Linked DNA regions of Homo sapiens: region 1 is linked to region 2. The links are contacts of gene promoters, found by promoter capture Hi-C in blood cells and fetal thymus (Javierre and others, 2016). All regions are on one chromosome and are shown on one strand. Each heading gives the region's core, a stretch centred on a gene start or on the middle of the fragment in contact. The rest is flanking DNA. Distances are from core to core; before and after follow the strand shown.

Region 1 (5,748 bases), core at 3,022-5,521, 660 kb before region 2:
AATCAGAGAAGTTGATTAAGTCAGATATGAAGAGTATTCAGAACAAAGGTACAACTCTGACTTTACGGATTTAACTGTTGACCTTCTATGAGCATATAAATAAGACTTCTAAATCTTCCCTTTCCTAATTGATATTACCTCTCTACTTGAAGCTTAACATTTTAAAAATAAAGCTTAGGCCGGACACGGTGGCTCACGCCTGTAACCCTAGCACTTTGGGAGGCCAGGGCAAGTGGATCGCTTAAGCACAGGAATTCAAGACCAGCCTGGCCAACATGGCAAAACCCCATCTCTACAAAAATACAAAAATCAGCTGAGCACGGTGGCAGGCACCTGTGGTCCCAGCTATTCAGGGGGCTGAAGTGGGAGGACTGCTTGAGCCCAGGAGGCGGAAGTTGCAATGGGCCAAGTTTGTGCTACTGCACTCCAGCCTGGGCGACAGAGCAAAACCCTGTCTCAAACAAACAAACAAAAAAGGCTGGGCACAGTGGCTCAGGCCTGTAATCCCAGCACTTTGGGAGGCCAAGGCGGGCGGATCACGAGGTCAGGAGATTGAGACCATCCTGGATAACACGGTGAAACCCCGTCTCTACTAAAAATACAAAAACTAGCCAGGTGTGGTGCGCGCCTGTAGTCCCAGCATACTCGGGAGGCTGAGGCAGAAGAATCACTTGAAACCGGGAGGCGGAGGTTGCAATGAGCCGAGATCACGCCACTGCACTCCAGCCTCGCGACAGACTCAAAAAAAAAACAAAAAACAAAACTTTATAAATTTAATTCTCCCCTTCTACTGGTCCCTTTTTAAAAACTGCCCTAAAATAAAACTATATCAGCATTTCTTAAACTTAAGAATGCAGAGGACCCCGAGAACTCATTCACACACTGGTTTGAGAAACAATGCCTTAAAAATGAAATGCATTATACATTAAGTTTAGGTGATCATTTGGGGACAATATAATGGCAAATGTAGAGAACCAGGCATTTTTGAAATGGCATGACCAAGAATTAGTCACCCAGTGATCCAAACTGCTTATGTTAATTTTTTAGACTTGATCAAAACAAAAACATAAAACAAAAATTCTTACAGACTGACGAGCATATAACCAAGCATTGACAGTTTTTAAAACCTAATATGGAACAAATTTAAATAAATCTAATGTGGTAACCTTCTACCTTTGTAAACTCACTTGAAATTTGGAACTCAACACATTCTAGACTAATTTTCTTATTACAGGAGTGACTACTTTGAAATTATAAGGTATGCTTACAAAAAATACTTATATCCCAAGCTACACTGTAGTGCAGTGGAGCTGCTCGCCTATTAAAGACATGTATGTTCGTTTTCATTTAGCTTCTTTTCAGGACAGAATAATCTGAATTTATGACATTTTAAACTGGTGTATGTAAAGACTTAATTTAAAAGATAAAGATTCTCTAAAATGTCTCAGTATAGTTAGAAAAATATTTATAGGGCTCTAACAAATAAAAGCAGAGACTAAAGGACACTTAACAGTCCACATTCTGCCTCACTTCTTGCCCAATTTTCAACCATCTCTTAGGGGAAAAAAGCTGTTTCTGAAACTACAGTTGCCAGATATATATCCCTTAAGCATTCCAGCAGGAAATATAAATGTTTGTGTTTTATTTTTCTTAGATGATTAAATGGCCAAAACAATTAAGCTACTTAAGTACTTTAGGAACGGGAATATCTGCATCAACCAGGGAAATCCTCATTACATTTCACTAATGATAAAAGGGCCTTAGGAAATGGACAGCAGTCCTTCCTCAGGGACTGCAAAGACTTCTGGGAGGGCGTCCAGTTAGCAACACTGAAATGTTGCTGAGGAAACATAAGTATGTACCCACAGTACTGTCGCAGAGGAATGTAGGGCTGGACAGGCCCTGCTGGCAAGAAAGAAAACACTATACCAGGTCACACTGTTTTGCAGCTGAAAATTCAAATTTAGGGAGAAACGCAGGACTGTGTCTTGGCCTGAAAGAAAAATGGGACTACTAAACAAAATACCGTTTAATCCTTACAAGTTCTTAATAGTGGATTTTTCCCACCAAGTATCAGGCACTGGTTTACAGATTTCCTAATTTCTCAATAAAAGCCTTCAATCTCTTGATTTCACCATGCAACATTTGCAAGAAATGAAATATTTTATCAATCAAATCCTACAGATGCATTAAAACGAGGCAGGGTTATCCTGGTTAACTCGGAACACAGGGAAGAGGAATCATGATCTCCCTTGTCTCCAAACTCCTCTCTGCCTCCCAAGCCTTCAGGGGCCCAACGCCCCAGTACTCTGAATCTTTATCAAACACCAGAACCTCCCAGTCTTCAAATATGCACCAGTACCCTAAGACAGCTCTTTCCCTTTCACTTTCCCTCTCGGAAATATTCCATTGGTTCAGTCCAGTCACTGGATTACTGCCCCTGCCCGCCTCGGTCTTTACCACTGACCTCTCCCATTCTGGAAAACCCCCACCTTTCCTTGGTCCTGCAAGATTCCTGAGTCCCCCAAACTCAGGACCCTTTCCAGACACCACACCCCCAGCCCCGGCCACCTCCTCAGCCCCTGTCGCCACCCTCTCTTCCAGAGTCTCCTAACTTTCCGATCCAAGAAATTTTGGAGACCCCACCACCGCCATTCCTTGCGGCAGCCCATTCTTCAACGATCTCTAGGCGCTAACACCACTCCTCCCTCCCCGCCCATCTACACACCCTGCTGCCTGCTCCCTGGGTTCCTGCATCTCTCAGGGACCCCGCTTCTCAGGCCCCTTGGAGACCCTACCACCTTGGACCCCTTCAGACACCATACCCTCCGTCCTCAGGCCCGCGGAGACCCTGACCCAACCAGACACCGCCGTCTGCTCCTGACACTTGGAAGCGCCCTTTCCCTGGCCCGGCCTGTCTCCTGCCCTGCGCCCGAGCCCTCCTAGCCTTCCTAAGCCCACACTGCCGCCCCCCTTTACCACTGGATAGAGCGGCGGACACAAGCAGGAGCGCCAAGACCAGCGGCCGCGCCAACCCCACAAGGGCTTGGATGGCCGACCCGGGCAGCAGTTTCGCTTGTGCTGGCCCCCTCATCCTCTTCGGGACGGCAGCGGCCATAACGGACTCGGCTGGGAGCCTGCGCTGTTGCTAGGCTCTACGCCATGAGGTCAGACGCCGCGGCCCTCGGCACATACGTCCCAGCGTGGTGACGTCGAAGCCTGGAGACGTGCTCTGGAAACCGGAATAAGAAGGAAGGATTGCAGGGAGGAGGGAGTTGCCGCTAGGCGAAAGTGGGGACCGCCACACAGTTGGCTGCGGATTAAAGGTAGGGTGTGACGTGCTGAAGAGGGCCAAAGCGAGCCCCTCCCTGCCGCCTGCATGATTGGGTACTATACAGCCAAAAATAGCGTTTTTAGCCATTTTAAAAAGGAAGATCCAGCTGTAGAACAGACTGATCACGAAAGCGAAGTAACTGCTCTTCCTCTCTCAAAGGCGAAAGAAACACAAATGTTAAGTAGTCCTATTTCGGTGATGGGATTATAAGTAATTTTTAAAAATCTTTCCCGACAGTCATTTATTTTTTTTCAACAAAGATTTAGCACCTCTCCCTATTTAAGATACAGCAGTGAACAAAAAGAACCCCCCACCCCCCCGCCCGCCTTGGCAGTTTATTTTCTTGTGAGGGCGAATATGGTGTAAAATACACACTATACAAGATGATAAAGATATTATGGACCGGCCCTAGTGCAGTGGCTCCCAGCACTTTGGGAGGCCGAGGAGGGCAGATCACCTGAGGTCCGGAGTTGGAGACCAGCCTGGCCAACATGGAGAAACCCCGACTCTACTAAAAATACAAAAATTAGCCAGGCGTGGTGGCGCGTGCCTGTAATCGCAGCTACTCGGGAGGCTGAGGTAGGAGAATCGCTGTAACCCGGGAGGTGGAGGCTGCAGGGAGCCGAGATGCCACTGCACTCTAGCCTGGGCCACAGACTCCGTCTCAAAAAAAAAAAAAAAATTATGGAGGAAAAGAAAGGAAGGTAGCTAGGAAGTAGAGGTGAGGGGCTGCCATTGAAAATAACTTTCAGATTTCCTAAAATAAGCTTCTCTTTTTAAATTTTGTTACTTGAAATCCCCAGTGTATAAAAATGCAAACTTACAAACTTCCAAGAAGTTCACCTAGGGCCCTGGCGCCATACTTTGCTCTGTGTGTACGTTCTGTAAATGTCTCCTTAATAAACAGATACAGGCTTCAATTCATAAAAGTTCCATTTGATCAATTTCAGGAAAATCAATGTGACGTTAAGCAAGACATTTATTGTGCCCACAGCTTCACCATTCTGGTCTCTATGATTCCCTGCGAAGATTGCTGTTATCCCCCAGAGACACAGCTGAGCTGTCTCTCTAAAGGGCCTGTGTTCTACTCCTGAATCTGGTTTCCCCTAAGCTTTTATCTCACCCTGGTGACAGCTCAGAAACACACAAACTCTGTGTTAAGAAAACTAAGAAGTCATTCATCTGCACATTTCCCGAAATCCCCCAGAAGCCCGTATTAGACTGAATGGTGTCCTTATTGCAAACTCTCCACTTTAGCCAAGGTGCAAAGTCCTCCCAGTCCCCCAGGAGCTTCCCTTCTCTGAGCGGTACTTAAGTTTTCTGTAAAACCACTCAGTTCAACAAATGAGCTTCTCAATCTTAGTTTCTGCTTGTTGACTTTAAAGTTAATCTATAATAAACACACTGCAGTCCTCTTCCCTGACTCATTGTCCACTTTGTCCATTTGTGTCCTCATACCAGATTGTCTCAATTCTCTTAACTGGTGAGATATTATGAACTCAAAGCATTTTGCACAATGATATTCCAACATGCTGCATGCAACAAGCAGACAATAAGTAACTAGTGAGGGAAATATTCCCTCATACTCAAGAGAACCCTTTATACATTTTTAAATATTTTAGGGCCAGGCTTATGCCTGTAATCCCAAGTACTCGGGAGGCTGAGATGGGAGGATCACAGGAGCCCAGGAGTTCAAGGCTGCAGTGAGCTATGATGATGACAGTGCACTTCAGTCTGGGTGACAGAGTAAGACTGTCTCTAAAAGTAAAATATCTTAATACTGTACCTGACATCTGACTAGATGTACCCAGCAACCACTATGTGCCATAATCTCTGGATAAATTCTATGAACATTCACTTAGAAATAGCTGCAAGTCCCTGAAGACAGTATGACAAATACTGAGGCCCACAGTTTTTGGGTGATCAGTTGCATAAAATGCTAAAATAGATGGTTCCTGTTTTGAATGTCACTTTCAAACATAGAAAAAAAAGGAATTCTGCTGAAAAATCATGAATGGAAAAAAATGTTCATATTTGTTGAAGCTGGATCATGCATAGAGTTTATTACTATTTGTGTTTCCACAATAGGCTGGATGTGGTGGCTCACGCCTGTAATCCCAGCACTTTTGGAGGCCAAGGTGAGCAGATCACCTGAGGTCAGGAGTTTGAGACCAGCCTGACCAACATGGAGAAACCCCATCTCTACTAAAAATACAAAATTAGCCGGGTGTGGTGGCAAATGTTTGTAATCCTAGCTACTCGGGAGGCTGAGGCAGGAGAATTGCTTGAACCCAGGAGGCGGGGAGGCTGAGGCAGGAGAATTGCTTGAACCCAGGAGGCGGAGCTTGCAGTGAGCAGACATTGTGCGCCATTGCATTCCAGCCTGGGCAACAAGAATGAAACTCCGCCTCAAA
Region 2 (5,665 bases), core at 972-3,471:
ACCCCATCTCTACTAAAAATACAAAAATCAGCAGGATGTGGTGGTGCATGCCTGTAATCCTAGCTACTTGAGAGGCTGAGGCAGGAGAATCACTTGAACCCTGGAGGTGGAGGTTGCAGTCAGCCTGGAGCCACTGCACTCCAGCCTGGGCGATAGAGCGAGACTCCGTCTCAAAAAAAAAAAAAAAGAAAAAAGAAAAGAAATACTAATATAGCATTCCAACTTGTAAGCTTCAAATGATGTGGCAATGATTTTCATTTCCTTTTCTATTTCTTTTTTTTTCTTTTTTTTTTTTTTTTTTTTTTTTTTTTAGCAACAATGTCTTTTTCTTTCACCCAGGCTGGAGTGCAGTGGCATGATCACAGGTCACTGTAGTCTTGACCTGGCTTCAAGCAAACCCCCCATCTCAGCAGCGAGTAGCTGGGACTACTGGCCTGCTAGCCAGGGCCCTGCACCCAGCAAATTTTTTTTTTTTTAATGTAGAGACTGGGTCTTGCTATGTTGCCCAGGCTGATTTTCATTTCTGTTAGACTCATCTTTTTTCTTAATTCTTGCTTGAATTTCTATTCCAGTACAATAATGCAAGTCAAAGGAAGGTTAAAATATACCTTATTTAAACTGCTAATCTTTGTAATTACTGACAGTGCATCTCTGACATTTCTAAAATGAAGACACCTTCCTTTTCTACAAACTCAGAAAATGCCAATGAACTATCTTAACATTTTTTAAGTTCAAAACATTTTGGTGACAGACACAAGTCTACTGAAAGGTATAATAGTAGATAATCATGTTGCTTTGCTATACTGGCACCACCATTTATTTGTCATCTGTAAAATGACAGCTAGTGCCTTACTCATAGTAGTCAATAAATGTTCCTTTTCTTTCCTTCTTTCATTGTTTCAATGTGACCTACTCTTCACTGATACTTTAACACGGAATATAGGACGTCTTCAAAGACACTTAGTAATATAGAGGCTGATGTAAGAACACACAAATAAATAATACTATGTTTAATTTTTCAAGTTAAAAGGACTTCTTCACCTCATTTTGTCCACTGTACCAAACACCTTAAATTGCTGACGAATTTGGTTCTTTCAGCTAACAATGTCAAAGTTTTAGCTGTTTTAAAACAAATCTTCTTGGAAAAGCTTCAACACCTTAAAAATCAGTACAGTGGCCCACTGAGGTGGCTCATGCCTTTAATCCCAGCACTTTGGGAGGCCGAGGCGAGCAGATCACCTGAGGTCAGGAGTTGGAGACCAGACTGGCCAACATAGAGAAATCCCATCTCTACTAAAAATAGAAAAGTTAGACCGGATGCGGTGGCTCACGCCTATAATCCCAGCACTTTGGGAGGCCGAGGCAGGCGGATCACGAGGTCAGGAGATAAGAGACCATCCTGGCTAACACGGTGAAACCCCATCTCTACTAAAAAATACAAAAAAATTAGCGGTGCGTGGTGGCGGGCACCTGTAGTCCCAGCTACTCGGGAGGCTGAGGCAGGAGAATGGCGTGAACCCGGGAGGCGGAGCTTGCAGTAAGCCGAGATCGTGCCACTTCACTCCAGCCTGGGCGACAAGAGGGAAACTCTGTCTCAAAACAACAACAAAAATTTAAAAAATTAAAACAAAAATCAGTACAGTTTTCTCAACAGTGTATCTTTTTTCCACTTAACTGGGACTTTGGGCTACGGAAAACGTTAACCAGTACTAGTAAGGAAGCTCAATTTGCCTCTACACTAATTGGGAGCGCTGAAAACACCAGGCCGTGTCACAGCCTCTTCAGCTGTCAGTGAGACCCGCCACCTTCACCTTACCAGGTAAGGAAACTGAGGCCCAGGGGAAGGAAGGGGCTTGCCTGCAGCCACCTCGTTCTTTCCTGAAAAGACCAAGCGTCTGACAGCAGCAGTGTTCTGCCTCGAGGGCTATCAGACGGCCCCGCGGAGCATGGATGAGACCTGTCCTCCCTCGCGCCGCCTAACCCCGGGGTGAAAAACAGGCGCCCCTTCACGCAGTGCCACAGGCAGGGACTCAGAGTAGGTCTTGGCCCTAAAAGTGCGCCTTCTAGGGGATCCATAGCTGCTGCCCACCGGTCCTCCCAGAAGGAGGGGCTGTCACTCACCTGCGACTGGAGGGAACGCAATCCCCTACTTGGCGTTGGCCGTACACCAGGAGACCGAACTGCAAAGCGCGATGGCTGCCGTGGCCCCAGTTCGCATCAGCCCCTTCCGGGCCGGCGGGTGCCTCACTAGCGACAGTCCGCAGGACCGCGTCGCCGAGCGCCCTAGGTTCCGCCTCCTGGCAGTCTTGCCGCCAATTCCCCAGTTGAGCGAGGCTGCTCGCAACCCCTAACACCGCCTGGGTCTCCCAGCCGCCTGGTCTCCCCACACCCGCCCGCCCGAAGGGATTTTAGGGGCCTGCGTGCCGAGAAAGGAACACCCCATGCCTCCCTAGGGGAAATTACTTTTGGCATTTTTTTTTTTTGAGACGTTGTCTCGCTCTGTCTCCCAGGCTGGGGTGCAGTGGCACGATCTCGGCTCACTGCAGCCTCCACCCCCTGGATTCAAGAGATTCTCCTACCTCAGCCTCCCCAGTAGCGGGGACTACAGGCACCCGCCACCACTGTCCGGCTAATTTTTTTTTTTTTTGAAACGGAGCCTCGATTTTGTCGCCCAGGCTGGAGTGCAATGGCGCGATCTCAGCTCACTGTAACCTCCGCCTCCCGGGTTCAAGCGATTCTTCTACCTCAGCCTCCTGAGTAGCTGGGAGCACAGGCGCGCACCACCATGCCCGGCTAATTTTTGTATTTTTAGTAGAGACGGGGTTTCACCATGTTGGCCAGGCTGGTCTCGAACTCTTGACCTAAAGTGAACCGCCCGCCTCGGCCTCCCAAAGTGCTAGGATTACAGGCGTGAGCCACTGCGCCCGGCTAATTTTTGTATTTTTAGTAGAGACCGGGTTTCATCATGTTGGCCAGGCTGGTCTCAAACTCCCTAGCATAAGTGATCCACCTGCCTCAGCCTCCCAAAGTGCTGGGATCACCACCGCGCCCTGCCTAAAATACATTTTCAAAGTACACGTGCTTATTGAATTCATTTTTTTTTCTTTTTTTGTTATTTGTGCTTATTGAATTCACCAGTGATTTACACAATGTAGCTACGTACCAGATAATGTGTTGGATGCTGGTTATTCAGCTTTTATTCAGCTGGTTATTCAGTTGTTTTATAGACGGTCTTGGCCAGGCGCGGTGGTTCACACCTGTAATCTCAGCACTTTGGGAGGTCAAGGTGGGTGAATCACCTGAGGTTAGAGTTCAAGACCAGCCTGGCCAACATGGTGAAACCCCATCTCTACAAAAATACGAAAATTACCCAGGCATGATGGCAGGTGCCTGTAACGCCAGCTACTCGGTAGGCCGAGGCAGGAGAATTGCTTGAACCCGGGAGGTGGAGGTTGCAGTGAGCCGAGATTGCACCATTGCACTCTAGCCTGGGCGACAGAGCGAGACTCTGTCTCCGTCTCAAAAAATAAATAAATTAATTAAATTAAAAATAAATTTAAAAATTATATATATATATAGACGGTCTTGCTCTTTCTCCCAGGCTGGAGTCCAGTGGTGCTATCATAGCTCACTGCAGCCTCAATCTCTTGGGCTCAAGGAATCCTCCCATGTAGCTGGGACCACAGGCGTGTGCCACCAGGCCCAGCTAATATTTGAATTGTTTTGTAGAGATAGGGGTCTCATTATGTTGCCCACGCTGATCTTGAACTCCCGGGCTTAAGCGATCCTCCGGCCTCTGCCTCCCAAAGTGCTGAGATTACAGGAGTGTAGTCAGATAGTCAGCATTTTTTTTTTTGGAGGCGGAGTCTCACTCTGTCGCCCAGGCTGGAGTGCAATGGTGCGAGCTTGAGCTCTGCTCACTGCACCTCCGCCTCTCAGGTTCAAGCAATTCTCCTGCCTCAACCTCCCAAGTAGCTGGGATTACAGGCGCAGTCCACCATGCCTGGCCAATTTTTTGTGTTTTAGTAGAGACAGGGTTTCATGGTGTTGCCCAGGCTGGTCACACCCGACTAATTTTTTGTATTTTATTAGAGATGGGGTTTCACCGTGTTGCCCAGCCTGGTCTTGAATGCCTGAGCTCAGGCAATCCACCTGCCTTGGCCTCCCAAAGTGCTAGGATTACAGTTGTGAGCCACTGCACCTGGCCGTAGTCAGCCTTTTTGTATGTTTGTTTTACTATGGAACAGTTCATGAATTTGCCTATCATCCTTGTGCAGGGGCCATGCTAATCTTCTCTGTATCATTTCAGTTTTAGTATATGTGCTGCCAAAGAGAGCACACAGGTATTCAGCTTTAAACAAGACTGTTTTGACACCAATGTTCTTTTCTAATGGATTGGCATTGCCTTCTTTAAATGCATCAAGAGCTGTTTAGGGATTCTCAGCAAAGCCTATCATTGGCTCTGCTGGATCTCCTCTTTCTGCTCCAGCCTCAGGAAGTGCTTCACTCCATGCGCTCTCCCTTGACACTAGGGTTTCCCTCCGCCAGAAAAGCTTCTACCCACCTCTGCATTTCACCCGGCTAACTCCTACACACTTTTCAGGTCTCAACTCTTCAGGTCTTCCTCTCATCAAGGCCTTCCTCCCAGATTTGGTTAAGTCCTCTGTTACAGATTTTGAGATGGAGCAGGGACCCCTCTTAGGGGCCTGCCTGACTCTCCCAACCAAGTATGGAAGTAAGGGAAAATCTCGAGTTCCTTTAAGGGAAATTCCCCACACCTAGCTAGCCCTGAGCAACTTGATAAGCAAGAAAGTAATAGTAGCTCAAAACAACAGCCTAAGAAGTTTGAGTCATAAGATGTTTGGTTCTTTATAAAAACTAAAGATAACATCTTAACATATGTCCCTGAGTTGTTTTTCAGAAACCCAGACCCACATCAAATGGACCCACTGGAGCCGGGTGTGGTGGCTCATGCCTGTAATCCCAACACTTTGGGAGGCTGAGGCAGGAGGATTGCTTGAGCCCAGGAGTTTAAGACCAGCCTAGGCAATATAGTGAGACCTCATCTCCATAAAAAATAAAAAAAATTAGCTGGGCATGGTTGTATGCCTGTAGTCCCAGCTACTTGGGAGGCTGAGGTGGCAGGATTGCTTGATTTGAGCCTGGGAGATCCAGGCTGCAGTGAGCTATGATCCCACCACTGCACTCCAGCCTGAGCAACAGAGTGAGACCTCATCTCCCCCACCAAAAAAAAAAAGATATTCCATCTTTTTAGGCCAAACCAATGTATAACCTCATTTACTGATATACAATTTTGCCTGTAACTTCTGCTTTTCTGAAATTTACCCCTCCCTTTAAAAACTCTTGCTTAGGCCAGGCACAGTGGCTCACACCTGTAATCCCAGCACTTTGGGAGGCCGAAGTGGGCGGATCACCTGAGGTCGGGAGTTCAAGACCAGACTGGCCAACATGGTGAAACCCCATCTCTCTTTAAAATACAAAAATTAGCTGAGTGTGGTGGTGCACGCCTGTAATCCCAGCTACTTGGGAGGCTGAGGCAGAGAATCACTTGAACCTGGGAGGCGGAGGTTGCAGTGAGCCCAGGTCGCACCATTGCACTCCAGTCAGGGCTAGAGAGTAAGACTGACAAAAAAAAAAAAAAAAT

What was found. The method cuts DNA at HindIII sites, captures the fragments that hold promoters and counts their contacts. A CHiCAGO score of 5 or more calls a contact.
Region 1: a fragment that was not itself captured here is called in contact with the fragment with the promoter of SAR1B in region 2 in 1 of 17 cell types (activated CD4 T cells); the score reaches 5.4 in activated CD4 T cells.

The regions. Positions count from the first base shown.
Region 1 is chr5:133,965,467-133,971,214 of GRCh38, forward strand. C5orf15 (chromosome 5 open reading frame 15) reads right to left here and starts at 3,159. Exons shown (of 3, transcript NM_020199.3): 1 at 2,980-3,159. The coding sequence starts at 3,118. It overlaps LOC105379183 (a long non-coding RNA gene), which reads left to right and starts at 3,223. Exons shown (of 2, transcript NR_134247.1): 1 at 3,223-3,326; 2 at 4,285-4,757. RefSeq lists enhancers at 2,353-2,452, 3,083-3,302. The HindIII fragment of the contact is 344 bases long and covers 4,100-4,443 here.
Region 2 is chr5:134,630,607-134,636,271 of GRCh38, forward strand. SAR1B (secretion associated Ras related GTPase 1B) reads right to left here and starts at 2,222. Exons shown (of 7, transcript NM_016103.4): 1 at 2,122-2,222. It also overlaps the pseudogene RNU6-1311P. RefSeq lists silencers at 1,934-2,043, 2,094-2,143 and an enhancer at 2,117-2,673. The HindIII fragment of the contact is 3,405 bases long and covers 1,147-4,551 here.